Linked DNA regions of Homo sapiens: regions 1, 2, 4, 5 and 6 are each linked to region 3. The links are contacts of gene promoters, found by promoter capture Hi-C in blood cells and fetal thymus (Javierre and others, 2016). All regions are on one chromosome and are shown on one strand. Each heading gives the region's core, a stretch centred on a gene start or on the middle of the fragment in contact. The rest is flanking DNA. Distances are from core to core; before and after follow the strand shown. Region 1 has its middle 9.3 kb from the start of KIF20B. Region 2 overlaps KIF20B (kinesin family member 20B). Region 3 holds the start of IFIT2 (interferon induced protein with tetratricopeptide repeats 2). Region 4 overlaps PANK1-AS1 (PANK1 antisense RNA 1). Region 5 has its middle 19 kb from the start of MIR107. Region 6 overlaps ANKRD22 (ankyrin repeat domain 22).

The links. Contacts are between HindIII fragments. The CHiCAGO score rates a contact against its expected background, and 5 or more counts as called.
Region 1: a fragment that was not itself captured here is called in contact with the fragment with the promoter of IFIT2 in region 3 in 1 of 17 cell types (erythroblasts); the score reaches 5.2 in erythroblasts.
Region 2: a contact is called between a fragment that was not itself captured here and the fragment with the promoter of IFIT2 in region 3, in 3 of 17 cell types (erythroblasts, total CD4 T cells and megakaryocytes). The highest score is 8.9, in erythroblasts.
Region 4: a contact is called between a fragment that was not itself captured here and the fragment with the promoter of IFIT2 in region 3, in 1 of 17 cell types (erythroblasts). The highest score is 5.3, in erythroblasts.
Region 5: a fragment that was not itself captured here is called in contact with the fragment with the promoter of IFIT2 in region 3 in 1 of 17 cell types (total CD8 T cells); the score reaches 5.0 in total CD8 T cells.
Region 6: a contact is called between a fragment that was not itself captured here and the fragment with the promoter of IFIT2 in region 3, in 1 of 17 cell types (non-activated CD4 T cells). The highest score is 6.9, in non-activated CD4 T cells.

What each region holds. Positions count from the first base shown.
Region 1 is chr10:89,690,218-89,694,327 of GRCh38, reverse strand. It overlaps the pseudogene FLJ37201. Among named protein-coding and RNA genes, the nearest start is that of KIF20B, 9.3 kb to the left of the region's middle. RefSeq lists an enhancer at 443-944. The HindIII fragment of the contact is 479 bases long and covers 1,927-2,405 here.
Region 2 is chr10:89,706,674-89,710,928 of GRCh38, reverse strand. It overlaps KIF20B (kinesin family member 20B), which reads right to left. Exons shown (of 33, transcript NM_001284259.2): 3 at 1,676-1,762; 4 at 1,468-1,584; 5 at 864-1,002. Among named protein-coding and RNA genes, the nearest start is that of KIF20B, 7.2 kb to the right of the region's middle. The HindIII fragment of the contact is 5,889 bases long and covers 1-4,255 here.
Region 3 is chr10:89,299,494-89,303,634 of GRCh38, reverse strand. It overlaps IFIT2 (interferon induced protein with tetratricopeptide repeats 2), which reads right to left and starts at 1,589. Exons shown (of 2, transcript NM_001547.5): 1 at 1,507-1,589. The coding sequence starts at 1,511. It overlaps LOC105378419 (a long non-coding RNA gene), which reads left to right and starts at 1,732. Exons shown (of 3, transcript NR_188200.1): 1 at 1,732-2,349. It also overlaps a transcript of LIPA not described here. RefSeq lists an enhancer at 1,562-1,881. The HindIII fragment of the contact is 3,117 bases long and covers 1,303-4,141 here.
Region 4 is chr10:89,645,955-89,650,118 of GRCh38, reverse strand. PANK1-AS1 (PANK1 antisense RNA 1) reads right to left here. Exons shown (of 5, transcript NR_184344.1): 2 at 1,121-1,196; 3 at 831-972; 4 at 1-60. Among named protein-coding and RNA genes, the nearest start is that of PANK1, 2.8 kb to the right of the region's middle. The HindIII fragment of the contact is 233 bases long and covers 2,346-2,578 here.
Region 5 is chr10:89,572,252-89,576,281 of GRCh38, reverse strand. No RefSeq gene overlaps it. Among named protein-coding and RNA genes, the nearest start is that of MIR107, 19 kb to the left of the region's middle. The HindIII fragment of the contact is 188 bases long and covers 1,194-1,381 here.
Region 6 is chr10:88,829,027-88,833,084 of GRCh38, reverse strand. ANKRD22 (ankyrin repeat domain 22) reads left to right here. Exons shown (of 6, transcript NM_144590.3): 2 at 1,059-1,250. Among named protein-coding and RNA genes, the nearest start is that of ANKRD22, 21 kb to the left of the region's middle. The HindIII fragment of the contact is 5,846 bases long and covers 1-4,058 here.

The DNA.
Region 1 (4,110 bases), core at 917-3,416, 390 kb before region 3:
CATGGAAAATGTCGAAAAGGGCTAAAGATATACCTATGGGTAACAGTGAGAAGAAGAAAAGGAAGCATCTGTCTTTATCAATATCTCAGAAAGTGGAGTTATTGCAGAAACTTGATGGTGGTATGTCTGTGAGGTGTCTTACTGAAGAATATGGTATGGGAACCACCACGATATATGACTTAAAGAAACAGACAAGTTGTTGAAATTTTATAGTGACAGCAATAACCAGGAACGAATGAAAAATAGAAAAACATTGCATAGAGCCAAAAATGAAGACCTTGACCCTGTGTTGATTGAATGGGTTCGACAACAAAGAAGTAAAGATACACCACTGACTGGTTTGTTGGTCGTGAAACAAGCTAGAATATACCATGAAGAACTGAACTTTGAAGGAGAGTGTGAATATTCAGGAGGCTGGCTGCAGAAATTTAAAAAGTGTCTTGGAATCAAGTATCTTCAAATCTGTGGTGAAAAGGCTTCTCCTGATGATGAAGCTACTGAAAATTACATTGATGAATTTGCTAAGGTAATATCTGATGAAAATCTTAGCCCTGAACAAATTTACAGTGCTGATGAAACAGCTTTGTACTGGTGCTATGTTCCTAGAAAAACTTTAACAATGGCTAACAAAAGAGCAACAACAGATGTCAAAGATACTAAGCAAAAGTTAACTGTTCTTGAGTGTGCTAATGCTGCAGGCACACACAAGATAAAATTGGCAGTGATTGGAAATAGCCTATATCCAAGGTGTTTAAAAGGTGTGCATAATTTACCTGTACATTGTTATGCACACAAGAAAGCATCAGTAACGGGAAATCTTTTCCAACTGGTTTGATAGGCACTTTGTGCCAGCAGCATGAGCTCATTGCAAACTGGACTGGAAGACAACTGCAAAATTTTGTTGTTTCTAGATAACTGTTCTGCACAACCCCCTCCTGAACATCTTGCGAAGAGCAATGCTTTTGGCATTGACTTTCCCCCCAGTGTGACGTCTGTAATACAACCTTGTGACCAAGGAATTCTACACGCCGTGAAGAGCAAGTATAAACAGTTTTTTGAAAAGCATCCTTGCTTCAGTTAACAGAGGCCTGAAAATCCAGGACATCCTTAAAGAATTTAATCTTAAGGATGCCATCTTCACAGTTGCTAATGCTTGGAACGACGTTGATAAGTCAACATTAACAAATGCTTGGCATAGACTTTGGGCTACAATTATGTTTGAAAGTGACCTAGCTGATGAAGATTTTGAAAGAGTTCATGACTCTAATGAGAAAACAATGGTAGCATAATTCATTACCTATGCCAAAAGTTTATCAGCCAAAAGTGTAAATAAGTTAGAAGAAGCTAACATTGAAGAAAGGGTTAACATTGATAATGATGAACCCATTGTGCATCCTAAGAGTGATGGGGAAATTGCTGAGATGGTGTTAAATGCAGATCAATATGAAGATGGTAGTAGTAATGATGATGACATTATGAATTTGGGTGAAAAAAATCTCCATAGATCATATGGTGAAAATGTGTGACCGATTAATTGCTGGCCTTGAACGATGTACATTTATCAGTGAGCAAGAGCTGATGACAATTTACTCAATTAAAGAGAAACTGCTTAGACAGAAACCTGTGTTAAGGAAGCAGGTGAAACTGGGAAAAGTCTTTAATAAAGCTCTCTGTGGTAATGCCGCTTCATCTCTTGACAATCCTGTTTCTGGCTCATCAGATGTCCAGCTCCAACCTGGTTTCATAGGCAGTGGTAATACTGGAACAACCTCTTCTCCAAGATTCTCAGGCAATCAAAGGTAACAAACGTTCATTGCATGTATATGTGTTATGGGTTAGTTTTCATCAGTATAAGTTTTAAATTTTACTTAAAATTTCCTTAGAAATAAGAAGCTTTTTCACAAGTGACAAAACACATTAAAAGCTTATGGTATGTGTGGTCTATATTTATCTTCATATTTCATTTACCAATAAACGTATTTATTTAAAAATGTTATTTACCAATGAATTTACTAATATATTTTTGTAAATAAATTGTAATATTATTTATGGTTTTGTTTCACTTAGTGTGAATTTTCACACATTTATTCGCAGAAATAGTAAGATTAATGTGTTTCATTACATAGTACTGTCCTGTACCCATTTGGAATGTTACAAAATGTATGCAATTTATGTAGTATATTCCAAAGGATTCCAATTTCATCCTGAATTCCAAAAAATTCTCATTTCCAAAACACATTTGGTCCCCAGAGTTTTTAAGAGATTATAGACCTGTGATTCTTTTTTGTTGTGAATGATCCAGTGAAATGATCAATGTAAAATGTCTCACACAAAGTAAATGCCCATTAAGTGTAGTTGCTATTATTAATATTGCGTTACTCTACTTTAAAAATGTAAGACAAGCTTTTTCTGACATTGAAGTTAGCAATAGCATAGGTAATGATATGCATTCTTCAAGTTTTATTACTCTAGGAGATGCTTTGGCAATGTGCTGCTGATAAAGTGTATTAGAGTATCTCCTAAATCTTCATCCAAGAATGGAAACATTTTGCAAATCAGAGGATAGAAAATGTTATGCTACATCAAATTAAATTGCATGTTCATAAAATATGAACACATCTAGTTAGCCCTTATTAATCAAAGAAATATAATATTTTTATCTGCTGCTAACTATCCCCTCAGCTCCGTGTGCCATAAGCACCACACAAACAATAATTTAATCTCCCTTGTGAGCAAAGATTGATTTTTAACCCTCTTCATATAATTTCAGCTACTATTATAAGACCTTGAACATAGCTGAATACATAAAATTGGTATTCTGTTTTGTAAAGAAAGCTGTTATTAGCCTGATGAATGTGAATTGATTCCTGTGGCCTTGTCTTCTTTGTTTTGTTTTTTTGTAATGTTTGTTCATTTAAAATATAAGATGTGTTGCTTTTCTCTCATTATAAAAGGCATACATCGTTCTTGTAGAAAACATGGAAAATACAATTTATAAAGAAGAAAATAAACTCATCTCTAATGTGACAACCAGTGATACAATCACTCTTAACATTTACTTTCAAAGCTATCTATTGCATTAAAGTTTAAGCCTTACGGGGGCAGAAACCATGTCCATTCATTCCTGTTCTCCACCCTGTCCTTGCTATCTTACCATAGTAGGCATATAACACATTTAAAGGAAACACACACTCACACACTTAGGGACCAAACTATATTCACAGGATTTTTGGCCACATTACTTTTAGTGAACACTATATTGTGAGAATTTTTCCGTATGAATTCTATTTGATTTGACAAAGCCAGATTTTCTACACTGCATTCAGCTTATCCTCTTTTCTTCTGGGACTTTCTACTCACAGGCCCAAGGGTAAGCATTATTCTGCAGTCCCTCTGCCAGAGTACCTACCTTCTTTATTGTTCTCACCATTTTTCCATCATAGTTGCCCCTCTTATTTCCCATTAGCTCATGCTGCAGCTTTCTGCTAGCTACTCTTACCAGGTATAAGAAACCTTCACCATCATGTAAACTCATATACAACCTGACTGGTGATTGGCTCCCATTCTCTACTCAACATATTTCTTCAATTGGGGTGAGCTAAATTTGCACAGGAGAGGCTTGACATGGAAGGTAGAGAGAATCCCAGACAGGATGGAACAGCAACTTCATCTTGTTAAGTAGGAATGTGGAGGGTAGGTCCTGCATCCACAATATTATCCATTCCATTATCTTAGGATCAGTCATAGAAACAAGTCCCATTCAATTGGAAGATGCCTGGAATCACTATGCTGACCTGGAAATCTCAGCTACACAAATGATTAACAGTCTGTCCTACCGATACCTAAACTAAAATGAAGAACCGGCCACCAGATGATACGAAACCTTATATCATGAGCCAAAATCTAGGAACTGGCCTCATGTCGTTGAATTTTTGAACATCATTGACCATGTTATGTCAGGCTTTTTCTGTAACTTGTGCAAAATCTAACAATGGATAATGTTCTCCCTCCTCTCCCAACTAATATGGTTTACATTAGCTGTTCATTTGTTTAACCTAGGGATAGGAGTCATCTACAGTGTGAATTCCCGTTGCTTAGTAGTGGCTGCCT
Region 2 (4,255 bases), core at 1,341-3,840, 410 kb before region 3:
AGTCTACTAGGAAAGAGGAAACTTTACTTGTTTATTAAAGCTCCTTTTATACTACCAATAGGCAAGAGTCAACAACTGAAACGGAAATGATAGCTAAGGATTACTCAGTTTTCCATCACTTTGTTATTCACAGTATTACCAACATTTTATTGACTATTATTCTGATGTAAACATGAAACTTTACATTCAGATAATGCAACCATATTAAGATTTGTAACCACCCATAATCACAAACTATAAAAGTAAAATGAAATATAAAATTTCTTCTGGTCATTTATGCTTAATTCTCTGTATCACATCAATACTTTTTCTGGATTTTAATCATCATCTAAATCTCTATCAATGGGTAAAGTATTTTTACAAATGAATTAAATAAATTTGAATTAAAAGCCAATAGCAAGGCCAGGCATGGTGGCTCTTGCCTGTAATCCAAGCACTTTGGAAGGCCAAGGTGGGCATATCACCTGAGGTCAGGAGTTCGAGACTAGCCTGGCCAAAATGGTGAACCCCCATTTCTACAAAAATATAAAAACTAGCTTGGCATGGTGGCGCACGCCTGTAGTCCCAGCTACTTGGGAAGCTGAGCAGCTCAGGCAGGAGAGTCATCTGAACCCAGGAGGCAGAGGTTGTAGTGAGCTGAGATCACACCACTGCACTCCAGCCTGGGCAACAGAGTGAGACTCTGTCCCTCCCCCGCCAAAAAAAAAAAAAAACAGCAATACGTAATAATATGCTAGTACTATTAAAAATAGAGCAAACGCATACTAGGTAATAGCAACATAACTACATGTATGTATTATAAAAACACTGAGTGATTATTATTGCTTCCTTATCCTTTCCAACCAAAATAAAACAATATTTACCTTGAAATGTATATGTTTTTCCTGAATTGGTTAGCCCGTAAGTAAAAATCAGACGACTCTGTCCTTTCAAGAGGTCTTTTACTGGTTGCATAATGCAACCCTGAAAGAATTCCTTCTGTGTAGTTGCTGGGCCAAAAACCTAAGCAAACATTTTTTAAAAACTCTTTTTAGAAAATTCAAGTTAATATTAATAGTGTGTTCCATCCCAACACTACTGTTTAAAAATTTAAAAGATTCATTCTTAAAATAGGTGCCACATCCCCACTCCCACAAATACATTTGATAGTTTTACTACCAGAAAGTTTTCAAGATAGAAATCTGTACCAGGGAATCAAGTATTCACCTAAGTTTTGAAAAGAATATTTCTTAAAAATATATTAATAATAACTTTAATAAAAATATAGTAATAATAACTTTAATAACACTACAGTGATCTCTTTACATCCAATTATATATTTCCAGACCTGAGATTTGAGTCTTATCCTTAAAATCTAAGTTGCATAAGCATAAAATGTATAGTTCATTATATACAATTATATAGCAATTTAGCCTAAGCCAAGTCTCTTTATCTTTAAAACAAAAAACAAAAACACTTCAGTTTTACCTTGGAAAAACTGAATTTCTGTGCCATCTGCCCTGAGCTTTTTTCACTTAACCGACCAAGGATGCATTGAGGCTCTTTCAGCACAACAGTCTGTGAATCCAGAATATGCACACAGCCCTAGAAAACATACCCCCAATAAATAAAAACTAGTATTTTGCCATTTTAAATGAAAGTAAAATATTAAAATTCTATTAAATTCAACACAAACCTCAGACTCAAGTTCTTTTTCTGACTGTGTAAATGGTCTTATTCGAAGACAAACCTGGAGATAATCTTTAGATTCGAAACTGTTTGCCTTAAAAAATAAAGGAGAAAAACATTGTGTTTTTGAAAGATACGGCTTTTCAGAGACCATTTTTCCTTAACATGGCTACTTTTTACATAATAATCTGAGATGATAAAGAATTTCTAAGCAGTCACTATCCTGCTTTTAATAATGTTAGAAAAACTCAATAAATCTATTTAAATAAAAACAAAATACACCAAAAAAGATCCAATTTCCTCCATCTCCTGTATTTATACGTGAAGTTTATAAAAAGGCTTTATTCCACAAAAGCCTAATATAATTAATGAGGCCCTAAGTCATTGGAAAATATAACTCTAGAATAAATCAAAAGTAACTAGAATATTCTATTATTCAAATGCTCAATTCCATGAGGTATTCAGAATTTTTTTACTATGTACCATTCTCCTTGTTACTTTTTCTGAGGAAGAAATGTGCATAGAAAATGTAATTTTAAAGAAATGTTTTAATGTTTTTTTAAAAAAGTAAAAAGGAAACAACTTGATAAATGCAACTTAATCAAAACAGACATAACTAGAAAATCTGAATAACCCAATTTCTATGAAGCAAACTGAATCCATTTTCAAACAAAATAATGCCACAAAAAAAAAAATTCAGGCCCTAGTAGTTTAACAGTAAATTCTATCAAACATTTAAGAAAATGATCAGGCCAGGAGCGGTGGCTCATGCCTGTAATCCCAACACTTTGGGAGGCCGAGGCGGGTGGATCACCTGAGGTCGGGAGTTCGAGACCAGCCTGACCAACATGGAGAAACCCCATCTCAACTAAAAATACAAAATTAGCCAGGCATGGTGGTGCATGCCTGTAATCCCAGCTACTTGGGAGGCTAAGGCAGGAGAATCGCTTGAACCTGGGAGGCAGAGATTGCGGTGAGCCAAGATGGCGCCATTGCACTCCAGCCTGGGCAACAAGAGCAGAACTCCGTCTCAAAAAAAAAAAAAATACAAATTGTACATAAACTCTTTAAGAAAATATAGGAAGAGAAAATACCTTAACTAATTTTGAGTTTGACATAAGCCGAATAACACAATTGACAAAGATATCCTCAGGAAAAAATTAGAAAACAAAATACCACATTAAGATATACGCAAAATTTCCCACACAAAATACTAGCCAATATATAAAACAGGATAATACATCTGACCAAGAATGGTTTATTCTAGGAATATAAAGTCTGTTTAGCATTCAAAAATCAATCCAGGCAATTAACCATATTAAAAGAATAAATGAAGAGAAACTTTTATCTCTACAGATGGGAAAACAGCATTTGACAAAATCCAACGTCCATCTGTAATAAAAATTCTCAGCAAAGTGTAATGAATGCAAACTTCCTCATCCTGATAAAGGGCACTTACAAAAAATCTATCGCTAACAACAAACTTAACAGGAAAGACTCAATCTAAGATGAGCAGCAAAATGAGTAATAAGAAGAGGATTTCTGCTTCCCCACTTCTAGTAACATTGTATTAAAGGTTCTAGCTGGTGTAATTGGGTGTGAAGGGGGAAAGGGGATGGGGGAAGAAAAAAGGAGGGGTAAGGGAAAGAAAAAGGGAAGAGAAAAGGAAAGGAAAAAGAAAGGTAAAAGGGAAGGGAAGAAGGGAAAGAAAGAAGTGGAGGGGAGAGGAGGGGAAAGAAAAGGAAAAAAAAAATGGAAAGAAAAAAAGGAAATGAAAAGACAAAAGTCATCCAAATTGGGAAGGAAGAAATAAAATTTTCTTTATTTAGAAACAACATGAACATACGCATACAAAATCCAACAAATCTACAAAAAATTAATGTATACTAACAAAATGCTAATCAGAGGTTACTTGGAGGTGTGATGGGAGGGAGCACTTACAAGGAGCCTCAAGGAAACTTTTGAGGGTAATGGTTATACTCACTATCTTGACTGTAGTGACAGTTACATAAGTGTATGCACATGTCAAAACTTATCAAACTGCGTATCTAAAATATATGCAGTGTTTCATTATGCCTAAATAAAGCAACTAAAAATATTTACAATAGCATCAAATAACATAAAATGTTTATAAATATATTTGACAAAAGACACGAAAGGCCTCTACATTGACAAGTATAAAATACTGCTAAGACATTAAAGACCTAAATAAAATGAAGAATACTGTGTTCATGGATTAAGACTCAATATTGTCAAGATGTCAATTCTCTCCAAACTGATCCACAGATTTAATGCAATCCCAGTCAAAATCCCAAGATGCTGTCTTGTAGAAACTGGCAAGCTGATTCTAAAATTTATGAATATGCAAAGGACCTAGAAAAGCCAAAATTTTCCTAGAAAAGCAAAACTGGAGAATTCACACTACCTAATTTCAAGAATCATTATAAAGCTACAGAAATAGAGAGTATTGTGTTGGAATAAGGACAAATAGGTCAAAGGAAGAGAATAAAATCCAGAAATAGATCCACATATACACAGCCGTTTGTAAAGCACCAAAACAACAGGGAAAGGAAAGTCTTTTCAATAG
Region 3 (4,141 bases), core at 340-2,839:
TAGGTAAAAGCCCTTTGAGCAGCCATTTAAAAGGCATCCAACTTCACTGCTTGATTTTGGGTTTTTATTTCCACTGGTAAGTTAGAGAAGCTGATGCCAGACACTTGCTTCCTGGGCTCTGGCTTGTGAGGACCTATTCTCCCGATTCCTATAGAAGTTCCAGTTGTATACACAACAACAACAATTTCTTCCTTTGCCTCTTATCTGGATGAAAGCCACAGTGACATTATCAACCAGGCTCAGAACTAATGCTACCACCGCAGTCTCAGAATCACTGAGGAGCCTTTTAGAAACACACATCCTCAGACTCTAACCCAGACCCACTTAATGAGAATCTCTGGGGAGTCAACCCTAGGACTCTGTCCTTAATAAGCTGTCCAGGCAATTTTTATGCATGCTCAATTTTGAGAACCACTGTCTTAGGGCACAAGGGCAATGCCCAGTGAAAGTCACAATAGATAAAGAATTAAGGAAAGAAAGGACAGATGGGTCTGTATTGTAATGGGAAAAATTCTAAGATAAGACCATGCTAAAATTCTAAGAAATAAGAAAAGGGTTCTATAGATTCTGGGTGACTACAAAAAAAAGAAATCTGTAAATATCTCAAATCTTTTTTTTTTTTTTTGAAATCAGGCAGAACATTTAGACTAGCAGGAAATAATATCGTTTCAAGAAGAGAAATCAGGAACCTCACAGACAGAGGGCAAGGTGTCTCATAGGAAGTAAGCACAGGGGTTGGTAACACGGGATTCCAGAGCTCCCAGGATGAGGGTTAGGCAACCAGGTCCGGCCACCCCACCTTCAAACTGGAGAAAATATTTCCCTTCCTATTCAATGAGCTAACACTTCCTCTCCAGGGCAGTCTCATGTTTTGGGGATAGAAGGGAATGTTAGAGGTGAGAACAGAACTATTTTCTCCAAGCACTCCATCTCTAATTCATACTCAGGAGGCATTTTGGGGTGAAAATATTTAAGTTTACCAGCCCTTGTGCAAATCTGAGATGAAGAACTACATTAAAAGTAAAATTCACCTTTGCAGGAAGTGGGGTTTGCTATTCTGTGTATATCTTTAACAGTATCTGCTGAAAAGAACCCTTTTGTTAAATAATTGTATTACAAGTCCCCAACTTAATCCTTTCAAATATGAAATAAGACAGGGTCAGTGCACAAGAGCAATGCCCCCAGACCCATCTTTAAGTGAAGCACCAGGCCGATGAAACATCATCCCTCTCTGCTGCCTTCTTTCTCTGATTGCAACTCAACTCCCCAGGCGTGCAGTTCTGGAGATGAATTTAGGAAGCTTGCCAGTGTGAAGCAGAAAATTGTTCAGGAGGGAACAAACCACCATTGGTAAGACAGATTTACAACCAACAGAGGTAGAGGCATAGTAAGGCTATAAACAAACACTAAAATGGAGCTGGCCCTCTTTGGGAACATAGCTTCTCAGGATTTGCATTGGACAAGATGACTCAACAGCACTACCGAATACGAAGGGAAAATATTTACCTCATGGTTGCAGTGCAATTCTCAGCTGTTCGGCAGGGCTCGGTTCAGGCAGCTGCACTCTTCAGAAATCTTCCTCTTCTGCCACCAATAAATGCTGAAGAGACCTATATATACAAGTGGCCTCTGGTTCCTTTTTGTTTGTTTCCCTTCAGCTGACGTTACAAAAGGGAAAGTGAAACTAGAAAGTGAAATTGGCAGGACTCTTTTTCTTTTTTTCTTTTTATTATACTTTAGAGGACTCTTTTTCCTCCGGAGCTGAGTTGTGATCAGAGAAAGAAGGCAGCAGAGAGGGATGTTTCATCGGCCTGGTGCTTCACTTAAAGATGGGTCTGGGGACATTGCTCTTGTGCACTGTCCCTCTCTTATTTCATATTCGAAAAGATTAAGTTGGGGACTTGTAATACAATTATTTAACAAAAGGGTTCTTTTCAGCAGATACTGTTAAAGATATACACAGAATAGCAAACCCCACTTCCTGCTAAGGTGAATTTTACTTTTAATGTAGTCCTTCATCTCAGATTTGCACAAGGGCTGGTAAACTTAGATATTTTCACCCCAAAATGCTCTTGAGTAAGAGCCAAGCCCAGCTGCGTAGTGAGTTAGAAGAACTTCCTCTTTGTGGAATGTACTGATGGCATCAAGGGAGCACAACTCCTAGGAGGACACATTTACAAAGCTCCCTGCCTTGTGATTACCATATTAACCCATCTTTGCTCTGCCTTATACCAATATGATCCACAGGCCACTGTAAGGAGCAGTTATTTAGCCTCGACAGGGCAGGGGATTTTAGTCTGAATCATTGCTGAATCTCCAGTCCCTGCAAAACAACCTGCACATTGCATGGTATGGCAAGCATTCCAAAAGTAGTTGTTGACTAAATGAATACATGATTAGAAGCATGGGCAGTGATGTCTGTCTATCTGGATTTGAAATCAGCTTCCACCTTTATGCTATGAAACTCTGGGGAAAATTATTGAATGTCTCTGCTTCGGTTTTGTAAATTGGGAATAATACAACTACTGGTTTATTGTGGTGTTGGGAGGATGAAATGAGAGAATACGTGAAATGTCCTTAGAATAATGCCTGGCAGTAATAAGTAAATGCTAGTTTCTATTATAATTATTAACTAAAATCGTTAACCAAAGTGATCAGAGGGGAAACTCTTTTTTTCAGGCTGGAGTGCAGTGGAAAGATCCTGGCTTACTGCAACCTCCACCTCCCTGGTTCAAGTGATTCGCCTCAGCCTCTCGAGTAGCTGGGATTACAGGCACGCACCACCACGCCCGGCTAATTTTTGTATTTTTAGTAGAGATGGGGTTCCACCATGTTGGCCAGGCTGGTCTCGAACTCCTGATCTCAGGTGATCTGCCCGCCTTGGCCTGCCAAAGTTCTGGGATTACAGGCGTGAGCCACCACGCCCGGCCAGGGGAAATTTCAATGTTGGCTTTTTCCAGAACTTTATCTCCTCTGACATTCAACAATCCATCACAATTACTGACCTAAGCCAAACAATTCCTAACATCTCCTTATGTTCTTGGCTTCCCCAAGCCCCACAATATTTTCCCCCTTTTTATTGATGTATAATAATTTACATATTTATGAGTTGCATGTGAGTGTTTGTTACGTGCAAAGAATGTTTAATGATCAAGTCAGGGTAATTGGGGTATGTATCACCTTCAGTGTTTATCATTTTTATGTGTTGGTATCATTTAAAGTCCTCTCTTCTAGTTACTTTAAAATATACATAATATTGTTGCTAAGTATAGTCACCCTAGTCGGCTATCAAACATTAGAACTTATTTTTTTTATTTAACGGCATGTTTGTACCCATAACCTAACTCTCATCTTCCCACCACCCCCCTTCCCAGTCTCTGGTATCTATTATTCTATTCTCAATGTCCATGAGATAAAGTTTTTTAGCTCCCACATTTCAGTAAGAACATGCAGTATTTGTCATTCTGTGCCTGGCTTATTGCATTTAACATAATGGTCTCCAGTTCCAACTACATTGCTGCAAATTACATGATTTCATTCCTCTTTAATGGCTGAATAATATCCCATTGTGTATATATACAATATTTTCTTTATCCATTTGTTCACTGATGAGCACCTATGTTGATTTCATATCTTTGCTATTATGAATAGTGGTGTGATGAACATGTGAGTGCAGGTATCCTTTTGATTTACTGATTTATTTTCCTTTGGATAGACATCCAGTAGTGTGATTGCTGGGTCTTATGAAAATTCTATTTTTAGTTTTTTGAGAGCTTTCCATACTGTTTTCCATAATGACTGTACTAATTTACATTCCTACCAACAGTGTATAAGAGTTCCCTTTCCCCTGCATCCTTGCCAGCATTTGTTATTTTTTTTTTTAATAATAGCCATACTAACTGGGGTGAGATGATATCTCATTGTGATTTTTATTTGCATTTCCTTGGGGTTGAGTGATGTTGAGTATTTTTTCATATGCCTGTTGGTCACATATACCAGAGCTCCTTTATAGGTGATGAGATGCTTTTCCTTTGCTGTCTTTAAAATTTTCTTTTTGTCACTGACTTTAGATAGTTTGACTATAATGCGCCATGGAGAAGAACGTTTTTCACTGTATCTGATTGGGGATTGCTGGGCCTCC
Region 4 (4,164 bases), core at 1,213-3,712, 350 kb before region 3:
TGCTGCCTAAAACTCTTCAGTAGTTTCCAATGGCCCTCAGTTAAAAGTCCAAACTCGTTCCTATGGGATAGAAAGCCATTTGAGATTTGGATCCTATTCAATTGAAACCACCTTTGCAAGAAATATAACAGTGAGAAAATTATGATAGTGAAAGAGATCTGATCTAACCAACTGCCATCTTGCCTTTACCCTCCAAACTGTCTTTAATCATTCCTGGGCTTGAGCCAAGCTAACTTTGGGAGACGTTTAGTTTATAGTTTAAATGATAGTAGCCCTTCCCCAAAACTAAACCATCTTTATAGGTTAGGCAGATAAGAGAAGCCTGAATTCTGCTAAAGTGTAGACATAAATGATTACTAGTCATTATTCCAGAAGTCACAAGATTTACAACTTTCACAAATACTCCTGCAGATAACATTACTATTGTAGAACCTAAGATTGGCCTTTTGAGATGTCTTTTCAGGGTTTTGCATTTTTGACAACCAGTGGCTCCACGTGGACCTGCCAACCCATCCTGTGGCCCCTCCCAGAGGCAGACTCAGCACATATGCAGAAGGACCATTTTCCACACTCCTATGATTGCATCCCCAGCCAATCAGCAGCACTCCATTCCCTGGACTGCCAAACTATCCTTGAAAAACCACAGCCTCTGAATTTTCAGGGTGACTGATTTGAGTAATAAAACCCCAGTCTCCTGTTCAGCTGGCTCTGCATGAATTAACTCTTTCTCTTTTGCAATTCCCCTGTCTTGATAAATCGGCTGTATCTGGGCAGCAGGTAAAATGAGCCTGTTGGTTGGTTACATAAACTTTTCAGCCATTACTGCTCACCTTCTCCCTTCTCAGGCTGCTCTTCAGCCTTGTGGAACTCCTGGCAGTTTCCCAAAAATGCCAGGTTGTTTCAAATGCACCCACAGAGTCTTGGCTCCTTCAGTTCTGAGTAGATTCTTTTAAACCTTCCCTCCCTATTCACCTGAAGAAAGGCCAATATTATTCAAAATTCAGTTTAAGGGTCATTTCCTCCCTGAAACCTGTTTTAGCTTCCACCTCAGCACCACTCCCCCATAAACCCCCACCCCTGACTCTGTCATTGCTCACTCTCTGGGGTCTTCTGGAGTTACCTCCCGCAGCATAGATGGCATACTTTGCTTCCTTCATTGTTTCTCCAAGCCATGATGATCATCTGCATCAAATCCCCTGTTTTTGAAAAAGTTATTTTTTTAATTTTAAAAATATTTATTATCATCTTCGTTATCATCATCATCACCTACTGATGAATCAGTCTATGGGAACTGGACCCAGAATCTGTGCTTACAAAATATCCTGGGTTGCAAGTTACACTGCATGTTCATTTTTTGCAAAATACCTTGAGCTTTATAAGATATGCATACTTTTCTGTATGTATGTTAGTTTTAATACAAATTTAAAAAGGAAAAATTCCCTAGGTTATTCTTACATAACACTGATGCTGGAGAATCACTGACTTTTCTCTCTCTACTGAATTGTAAGCCCTTTGAGGGCAGTGAAGCCATCTATTTTGTCTTTGTATTCCCAGCATGCTTTAGTGCCTACAACATAGTACACACAATAAATGATTATTAAATAAATGAATAAGACCCAAGGGAGTGCACTGGTTTGTGGGTTCCCTTCTCCCTCACTCTCTTCCAAACATTTGTTGCATGCCCCTCCTGGAGGACATGACAGCTCACGCCTCAAAGTTACACCTCCTACACACACCCCTGAATAAACCTGTGAGATGCCACCTGGCTTCTTCCCTACCATACGCTGGGTGTAACTGATCCAAGCACCCAGCCTGACAAGGGTAGGAGAAAGGAAGCAGGTGGAGGACGTTCTGTCCCAGTACCAGTACTTTTGCCCTGCCTGGGTCTGAGCCACCTGGCTCAGGCCTTCCTCAGCAGGCCTGGGAATCCAGCTAGAAAAAATATGTCCTTGGAGATATTGCAATGCTAAAGCTTCTATTTGCATCTCTGATGTAATTTGCTTCCTAAGCCACTCAGCTCAATTATGTGGGAATTTGAAAATGATATATTTGAATATTTAGGAGTGGCTGGTGATTTTTAGCAAATTTACAGTAGAAAGTGAGGGGGACTCTGTGTGAAATATCATCTAAGTCAGGGGTGTCCAATCTTTTGGCTTCCATGAGCCACACTGGAAGAGGAAGAATTGTCTTGGGCCACACATAAAATACACTAACACTAATGATAGCTAATGAGCTAAAAAAAAAAAAGTCACAAAAATAAATCTCATGTTTATGAATTTGTGTTGGGCCGTATTCAAAGCCGTCCTGAGCCGCATGCAGGCTGTGGGCCACAGGCTAGACAAGCTTGATATAAGTCATTTATCCAGTCACAAATAATTACCAAGTGCCTCCTAGGGATAGAGTGATGAACAAGTCATCTGCCTTAAAGATGCTTACAGTGAAGTGGGGTAAGATGGGCAATCAAATAATAATAATGTCTTTTTCTAGCACTTACAATGTGCTGGACACTTTACATATGTTAACCTTAAATAATGAGATTTAGAGAACATGATTAAGTATGAAGTTTGAGTGCAAAGCTTGAGGATAGCCACCTGGAAACACTAACTCCAAATGAGTGGGATCAGTGCTCCAAAGTGGAGAAGTTAAGATTTCACTTATACTGGCAGAGATGGAGAAGTTCCAGCAGAATTACATTTTCCATACAAGACCAATGCATATGCCACAGCGATTTGATTGGTTGCAGACTGCTGCATTCCAAGGAAGATTATTACTCTGTGAGGAGAGGCAGTGATCCAAGGGATTAGTATCTCTGGCCCTGCTCGGTCTTCCTAATTATTTACAAGGAAAAAAGGCAAGCCCAGGCATGGTGGCTCATTCCTATAATTCCAATACTTTGGGAGGCCAAGGTGGGAGGATCGCTTGAGCCCAGGAGTTGGAGGCTACAGTAAGCTACGACTGTGCCACTGCACTCCAGCCTGGGTGAAGGAGTGAGACCTTGTCTTAAAAAAAAAAAAAAAAAAAGCAGAAGTTGTAGCTGCATAGCCACATTTCTCTCAAGTCTCACAAAAAAGTTCCAATAGCTTGAAGTTTGAATTAATTTTACGCATGTGTTATGCATTTCATCAGTCTAACAACTCAGTGATGTCCTATTATTCTCAAGTTACAAATGAGGGAACAGATGCATGGTATAGTTACAAAATGATAAGGAGTCATAAACAGAGTACAAGGAGTAGGAAGAGGGTATGGCAGGGAGACCTAATGTAGCCCTAAGGGTCAGGGAACATTTCTCTAAATATGAGAAGTTAAAGAGGAGATCTAAAGTTGGAGTCTAGTAGACAAAAGAGGTCTTAGAGAAGAGACTTCTCTAAGGCAATGGAAACAGCAGAATGTTGTTTAAGGAATTGAAGGCAGCACAGGGAGCCCCTGATGAGGCAGGAGAGGTAGGGAGGGGCCAGATCACCTGGGTTTTTTTCTCTGTCTTTAAATAGCATAAGGTTAGGGAAGCTAAGAGAGTTGAGATTTGGAGTTTAGTCCCACCTTTGCTCTTAATAACCTCAGCCATCTGTCTGCAGCTCAGTTTCCTGATACGAAAAAAGTATGCAAGAGTGGATAGACCAGAGTGCTCCAGTGGCCCCCATGGTTCTCAAGCTCTGATTCTAGGTAAGGCTCTGCTGGAAGGAATTGCCAGATGCAAGCCCTAGATGCTGCTGAATGCACTGAAGCCCAGGGGCCCAGCAACCCAGTAGCCAGCCAGCACCTGCCAGACTCTGACTCCTCTGTAGATTAATTGCAAATCACGGAGAATATCACAAAATAAATCACACAATAAATACGGCTGTAAGCATGGTTTGTTCCCCTGTCGAAACAAAGGGTGAACTGCTAATCATAATAGCGTAATAAGGAAAACTAGCTTTCTGAGCATTTACTGTGTGCCAGGATTGTACCAGGTACTTTTAGTAGATTTTCTCACAACAGCCCCATTATGGATAGGAAAGTGAGGCCTCAAGAGATTGCATAACTTTGGGAAGGTATTCACCACCCAAATTAGTCCTGCATAGTGAGCATGGACAGTCCCGTTTCCTATTGCTAGAAGTGTTACCTTGAGCATTAACGTTATCTGGGTTTGCTCAGTGGCTGAGTTGGAATTTGAACCCAGTGCTAACT
Region 5 (4,030 bases), core at 38-2,537, 270 kb before region 3:
GTTGAAATGACAACAAAGGATTTAGAATATTGCATAAATTCAGGTGATAAAGCATCGGCAGGGTTGGAAAGGATTGACCTCAATTTTGAAAGTCCTGTTGTGGGTAAAATGCCATCACATGACATCACATGCTGCAGATAAATCTTTTGTGAAAGAAAGAGTCAACAAATGTGGCAAACTTCATTTTTGTCCTATTTTAAGAAATTGCCACAACCTTCAGCAACCACCACCTTGATGTCAGCAGCCAAATACATTGAGATGAGACCCTCTACCAGCAAATAATTAGTACTGGCTAAAGGCTCAGATGATTATTAGCATTTTTTGGCAGTAAAGTATTTTTGAAATTAAGGTATCTATATTTTTTAACACAATGCTATTGCAAACTTAACAGACTATAGTATATTCTAAACATAACATGTACATCTGCTGGGAAACAAATTCATGTGACTTGATTGCCTGGGTCTGAAAACAAAGTTGCAATTTCTCCAACATATGCCTATATATTAATGAAATATATAAAAAGCAATGTAAATTAGAAGACTGAAAAGAACCATTGGAATATAGCACAAAACTGAAATTATATATGTTAATTGGATGTTTTTTTTTTGACCTGTGTGGTATTATTTTCAATTTTGTAAAATATTCCACTTGTTACTTTTGCTTTTCCACTAGTTTTTTTCCTTGTACATTTCTTGAATTATGACATTTCTGGAATCAACCACTAAGCACATTTAGTCAAACGTGTGTGGCCCACAGTTGGTGTGGTTAATACTAAGGGCACTGTGACATAAATTCAAGTAGCCTCAATACCATTTGCGTAATTTGTTTTAACAGATGGATTTTCTTTTTAAATTTTTTGCAGTTATGGCTTAAGGAGAGTTTAAAATTTTCTTTTAGGCTATAAGGCAACCAGAAAGAATTAGACAGTTTTTGTATTGGATTGTTCTTCTCTTTTCTCTTCCACTTCACTTTGTTCATGAAATTTGCTGTTGCTATTTTAGCAAAGTTCAACATCTAAAGAATTTATGCCATTTGGCTGCCATGACACAGATATAAATTATGTTTGTTTTACCACATTCCATAGTGAGGTAGGTGGTGTATGTCTTCTCATATATCTTGAAAATATATGTAAAATTTAATTTTAAAGACAACTTAAACTTTAAAATAATTATTTTTCATTAACTACTCAAGCTTATTTATCCTGACATATGAAATATATTTTCATGATATATTCTTAAACTTTTCTAGCATTCATATTCTCTATGCATATTTGGATGTGTACGTGTTTTTGGCATATTGGGGAAGAGATAGTTAATCCTGCAAGTTGTGGATCTAGAGTTTGTATTAAAATTATTATTTAGGAAGAGTACATTTTTAAGCTTAATATTTGAACAGTTTGTCAAATGTCACTTTATTTTAAATATAAGCCAAAAGTATTTTTGAATTAAGCTCCATAAGTGGGTTGAAATTTGGTAAATTAAACATTATTGTGAATTTTAAACATTTTTAGGCATTCTCCTTTGAGATTTGTTTACTATTTATATTGGCTTTATACATTTTAAAATGAGCAGTCACTTTTCTGTCTGTCTGTTCATGTGCCAACATCAACATTGAATTTATCAAGTAGTTATTTATACAATGTTTAGACAGGCAAAATGAAATGGAGAAGTGGGGCAATTATCTGTAGATCCCACCCACACAACTTTCAGCAACTCTAGAGAAAATGGTGTGGTTGTCCAGAACAATTGAGTTTTGTTGGCTGTGCCCTGAACATTTAGTCAATTACACAATTCTTCGTGTCCTTTAGCCTGTGTTTCTACAGTCCCTGTCTGACCTCAGCTGCTCATGGTAGTCTTCTGTGGTCCTTAATTAACTATGAAGATTATCTCAGCAAAATCAAGCTGTAGGGGTCTTTGTCCATGGAATGTTAAGGACCATTTCATCTATGGCATAATCCATTTTAATGGCCATAGAGAGAGATTTTATGAAGATATAGCCACACTTAGAAATTAACTGCCTGGCGCGGTGGCTCACGCCTGTAATCCCAGCACTTTGGGAGGCCGAGGCGGGAGGATCACGAGGTCGGGAGATTGAGACCATCCTGGCTAACACGGTGAAACCCCATCTCTAACTAAAAATACAAAAAAAAATTAGCCAGGTGTGGTGGCGGGTGCCTGTAGTCCCAGCTACTCAGGAGGCTGAGACAGGAGAATGGCGTGAACCCAGGAGCAGTGAGCTGAGATCGCACCACTGCACTCCAGCCTGGGTGACAGAGCAAGACTCCGTCTCAGAAAAAAGAAAAAAAAGAAAAAGAAATGAGAAATTAACACTTTAAAAAAGGTATATAGTGTTAGGATTTGAAGTTTTAAAATAAAACACCATGGCATGCATAGTTTTTGGAAGCCAAACAAATTCTAAATACACTGGTATTCAAACTTTTAAGATGTAGAGATTTAGTAATTCATTAGTATTAATTATTGAATAATTGCTACTTATGTTTTAGTGTCAGTTTTTATTCATTGATCCAGTCCTGCAGAAGAGACTTTGGAAGCATTAACTGCATCTTGCATTTCAACTCAGGAGAAGTTCATTTTAATTACTAAGGAGTAGTTGCAAAATAGGTTCAAGGCCACTCCCAAAATAAACCTACCAAGTTTGAGAAGTGAAAATTACACTTTTTGCTATTATTCTAATTTTTAAACTTCTAAATAAATGTTGAACAACTATTTGGAGAATATCAGTAAAAAAGGTGCCAAATTATTAACCTGCATTGAACTTTCACAAGTTCTGACCTGGCACTGGATGGAGAGGTAGAGCTTGGACCAGAAGTGACCTTTAATATCCTTCCCAACCCAGAGCTTCTGTGAGTGTGAGAACTGGGCCTTGACCCTGCCCTTTACAAAGCTACCATATGGGGTCCCGGCGCAGTGACTCACGCCTGTAATCCCAGCACTTTGGGAGGCTGAGGTGGGCGGATCACGAGGTCAGGAGATTCAGACCAGGCTGGCTAACACGGTGAAACCCCGTCTCTACTGAAAACACAAAAAAATTAGCCAGGCGTGGTGGCAGGTGCCTATAGTCCCAGCTCCTTGCAAGGCTGAGGCAGGAGAATGGCGTGAGGCCAGGAGGCAGAGCTTGCAGTGAGCCAAGATTGTGCCACTGCACTCCAGCCTGGGCGACAGAGCGAGACTCTGTCTCAAAAACAAACAAGCAAACAAACAAAAACAAAACAAAACAGAACAAAAAAAAAGCTACCATGTGGGAATAAAAGATGTTTCCAGGAAAGAGAGTCCACAACAATAATGACAGCTCTGATGGATTAAGCCTTTCATATGCTTGGCACTCCCTGTACCTAATCTCCATTAATCCACTCAGATGATGAATAACGTGGGGATTCTTATCTTCATTTTACTGGAGAAAAGACTGAAGCTTGAAGAGGCAAAGGAACATGCCAAGAGCATGCCATGAACAAATCGTCAAGAATCCTGAAGTGGCTTTCTGGGAAAAATCAAGGCTTTTTTGGGACTAAATGATCCAGAGATTTGCTTCCATTTTCTAAAAGGGATTGTGTATAGAGGCAATGTCTGAATGTGTATCTATCACCTTTATCAGTCATATTATTGAAATTTCTGCATACTCAGGCTTAAAATTGCACATTGGCTGGTCTGAAGTTCTAGCTCAAGTGCCTTCCTCCTACTGCTATTCAGTTAGTTAATATTCTTTGGCCAGGTGTGGTGGCTCACGCCTATATTCCCAGCACTTTGGGAGGCCGATACGGGTGGATCACCTGAGGTCAAGAGTTCAAGACCAGCCTGGCCAATATGGGTGAAACCTCGTCTTTACTAGAAATACAAACATTTAGCCAGGTGTGGTGGCTCACACCTGTAATCCCAGCTACTCAGGAGGCTGAGGCAGGAGAATCACTTGAACCTGGAAGGCAGAGGTTGCAGTGAGCCGAGATTGTGGCACTGCACTCCAGCCTGGATGACAGCATAAGACTCCACCTCAAAAAAACAAAACAAAATAAAAG
Region 6 (4,058 bases), core at 952-3,451, 470 kb after region 3:
ATTGTACATAATTAAGAAAAGAATTACAGTATGTCAGTTGCTGTGAGGGAGAGATACTGAATGTTGGGAGTAAGAAAAGACTTCTTGGATAAAATGAAAATTAAATTATGACATGAAGGGTGAGCTAGGTGTTATTCAGAAGAAAGGCAGGTGGTGTGTTTTATGCAGAGAGAGTATTCAGGGCAGAAGCCCAGATGGAAGGTACCAAACATGGTTTGGTTCAACCAAACTTTGAAGAACAGAAGTCGAGAAAGGCTGGAGCAGAGGAGGGAAAGAGGACAAGATCATGCTACCTGAAGTCTTGCTATTAAACTCCCATGGTGCCTTGTGAAGCTCTGTATAATGCTTTTTATAAACAGCATCTAATCAAGTGTAGTTAACCATATAATTTGTATATTATTTGCCTAAAAAACTGTCTTTTCTGCTCTGTTGAGCTCCTTGAATACAGGGTGCTATGTAGGTCTTATTTCATCACTAGTACTGCCCTAAACTCCTCCCCATATGCTTGTTTTCTATTTTATCTTTAGTAAAGATAAAGATAAAGACATTTTATCTTTAGTAAAGATAAAGATAAAGACATTTTGTCTTTACTAAAGATAAAGATATTTTATCTTTAGTAAAGATAAAGATAAAGGTATTTTGTCTTTAGTAAAGATAAAGATAAAGGTATTTTGTCTTTAGTAAAGATAAAGATAAAGGTATTTTATCTTTAGTAAAGAAAATGAATGCTTTTCCGACAGGCCCACCTACCTGTAAGCACTATACATAGTTTCCTTACTGAGTTGAATTTGTAGTATTTCATTTATTTATTCATCCATTTGATGGACATAAGTGTGTGCCAAGAAAACTTAGGAAAATGTAGGAGGTTCCTCATGGGCTAATTCTTGATCTAGACTTAAAGCTAGGCATAACTGAGACCAAAAAATCTCACCTGCAAAGCAATATATTACAATTTTAAAACATTTAAATTTTAATGTATTGGGTTATGACTTTTTTTTCGTTTTTGTGGTTTAATTATGCCAGTATTTCAAAACCTGCTTTTGTTTTTCCCGACCCAGCCCATCTGCCAAGCAGCCTATCAGAATGACTTTGGACAAGTGTGGCGGTGGGTGAAAGAAGACAGCAGCTATGCCAACGTTCAAGATGGCTTTAATGGAGACACGCCCCTGATCTGTGCTTGCAGGCGAGGGCATGTGAGAATCGTTTCCTTCCTTTTAAGAAGAAATGCTAATGTCAACCTCAAAAACCAGGTGAGGTCATGACATGAATGGAGAGTGTAATTGTTCATGATAATTCTTTTCTCTTTGAATCACTAGAAGTGGTGCATGTCATTTTTTAAATTGCTTGCAGCTCCTAATACGAACAATTATCTTAGCCTACTTTAGAAAGACTGACACATACCAAGGACATTTTATTAGGCTAAACAGCAAAATAAAACATAGTTCAATCAGCAGGCATAATTTGTGATAAATTATGTCTTTTTACCTCTGGTTCACTTATTTGGCTGGATAGAGCTTCTTTCTTTTCCTTCTTCCTCTCTTCATCCTCCTCTTTCTTCCTCTCCCCTCTTTCTCATTACTAACACAGAAGCAATGGCAAAGATTTCTTGGAAAAGAAATGCTGTTTCATTAGTTAGATTTTTACCTGCTATATTAATGTCCTGATCTCCAGAGGATCCTATAGTGTTCTTGTAGAATGAAAGAGTACTATTGAGAAATTTACCAAGGACAAATAAGCTCATGAGCCAGAGGTTACTTGAAGTCACACAAAAAGGTGTAAAGAATATATTTAAAGATGCAATATTAGCTACTTTGGAGCCTTCAGGACCAAGAAAGAGAAGAATATGTGTGTATTGCTGTGAAAATCCTTGTGGAGCCCTTTCTGAACATCTAGCATTTGCATCGTAGTGAAGGCAATATTTAAATTACACTGAATAAATATTAAGCCATTTTTTTGCAATCATTATGACTGTCCTGTACCCACTTATATGCATTCAAGGCGAGAAAACACTGGAAATCCCCCCTTGCCCCTTCTAAGTCATTTGGAGACTAGCTCATCAGGAGTAACAATGTATTATCAGAAAATTGATCATTACTGGACTTTTTTATTTATGCTTACTATTTTTGGTTTGGTTGCGATTAAAAGCAAGTCATGCCTGTGCTGAATGGAACAGATATGCAACATCGTGGACTATAATAGGATCTCTGTAGATCACTGCTGTGAAACCAGATATGTGGAGTTGCAGTGAGTGGTAGTGCCAGAAGACAGATGTCTGTGGGTTCCTGCGCTCTTTTAAGAGGTGCGCTCGTTAGGAAACTGAGGGAGGAGACGTTAGCCCATGGGCAAGGCTGAGGAGACACTTTTATCTCCGCTTTGCAGAAGAGGAGGGCCTCAGCCAGCCTGCTGGGATTTTCTGGTATCATAAAAACCATGAAAAAGACTTTAGTGGATACATTAGATTAATAGATTTTATCAGTAGAAGTTTTTGGTTTGCATTTTCCACTTTCAAATGTTTCTAATGTTAGCATTTAATATTTTTATTTTCTCCAAATATTAATATTTGTACATTAATAATTTGAACCTGTGATTTCTCATGTCTGAAATCTGTTTATAAATTATTTCCAGAAACACTAAACAAACAAACACCTTAAAAACAAACAAACAAACAAAAAGCTCTGCTGGAGATTCAGAAGCACAAGCCTATGGATTCTATTGATAGCAAATTAAATTAAAACATAAAGATCCTTGTTTTTGTCTGTCAAACTGACCAAGATTAAAAAAGAAAACAAATGTTGATCAGAAAGTTTAAGTTATTATTGTCTTATTAGAACACAATTTGATAGCGCAATATGAAAAGCATTAATACTTTTTATGCCAGGAATTCTATTTTTAGAAATGTAGGCAAAGGACAAATTTGGAAATGTTGACAAAAATTTATGAATGAGCAGGTTCAGGCAATATTATTTATAAAAATGAAAAGTTTAAAACTTGAAACGGGCCATGTGCAGTGGCTCATGTCTGGAATCCCAGCATTTTGGGAGGCCAAGGTGGAAGGATAGTTTGAGACCAGGAGTTCAAGACCTGCCTAGGCAACATAGCAAGACCCCCGCATCTCTACACAAAATAATAATAAGTAAAAAATTATCCAGGTGTGGTGGCACATGTTTGTAGTCCCAGCTACTTTGGAGGCTGAAGTTGAAGGATCGCTTGAGACCAGGAAGTCAAGGCTGCAGTGAGCTAGGATTGTGCCACTGCACTCCCGCCTAGGTGGCAAAGCAAGATCCTGTCTCACAGAAAAACAAAAACAAAAACAAAACCCTCAAAAACCATGAAATGTTCAAAAGGCAGGGCTTAGCTAAATACATCAGAGTAGTTCCACTCAATACTAAGCCATGCAGCCATTACAATCATATGTTTAAAAATATTGAATTGCATGGAAAAATGTACATATTCTAAATATACGTTTCTGAACTGAAAAAAGCAAGATATGATATTGCATATGCAATATCATTCTACATTTCAAAATTCCACATTTATGCATTTAAGAAGACTGGAAGAAAATACAACAAAATGTCAACAGTTAACTCTGGACCATTTAATATAATAATGGGCAATTTAAAATTCTATCGTTATGTTCCTCTCTAGTTTCTAAAATTTTTTTACAGAAAATATAAATGCCTTCATATTAGAAAAACAAAAAGTGTTCTTATTTAGGTACAGTGCCTTGCATAAGTGGAAACTAACCTCCTTTCTTTCTCTTGGGCTCCCTCTCCTCTTACTGATTTGATTGGTATTCCAATTACCACCTTCTGTTTTGCCTTATATTTATTTGTGCATATTTCTGTCCATCTTTGATTATGAGGCCCTAAGAGTTCACATCTCCCACAACCCTTGGAAGCTGACATCTATTACCTGATAAGTATTCACATATTTGAAGAATAAAATTGAGTTATATGCATTCTTCTAGACTATGCACATGAAGGAACATGAAAAACAGCCATGTGGTTAAGAGTTTTCCTATGAACAAACCACAAAATGGATAATCGTACACATGGTAG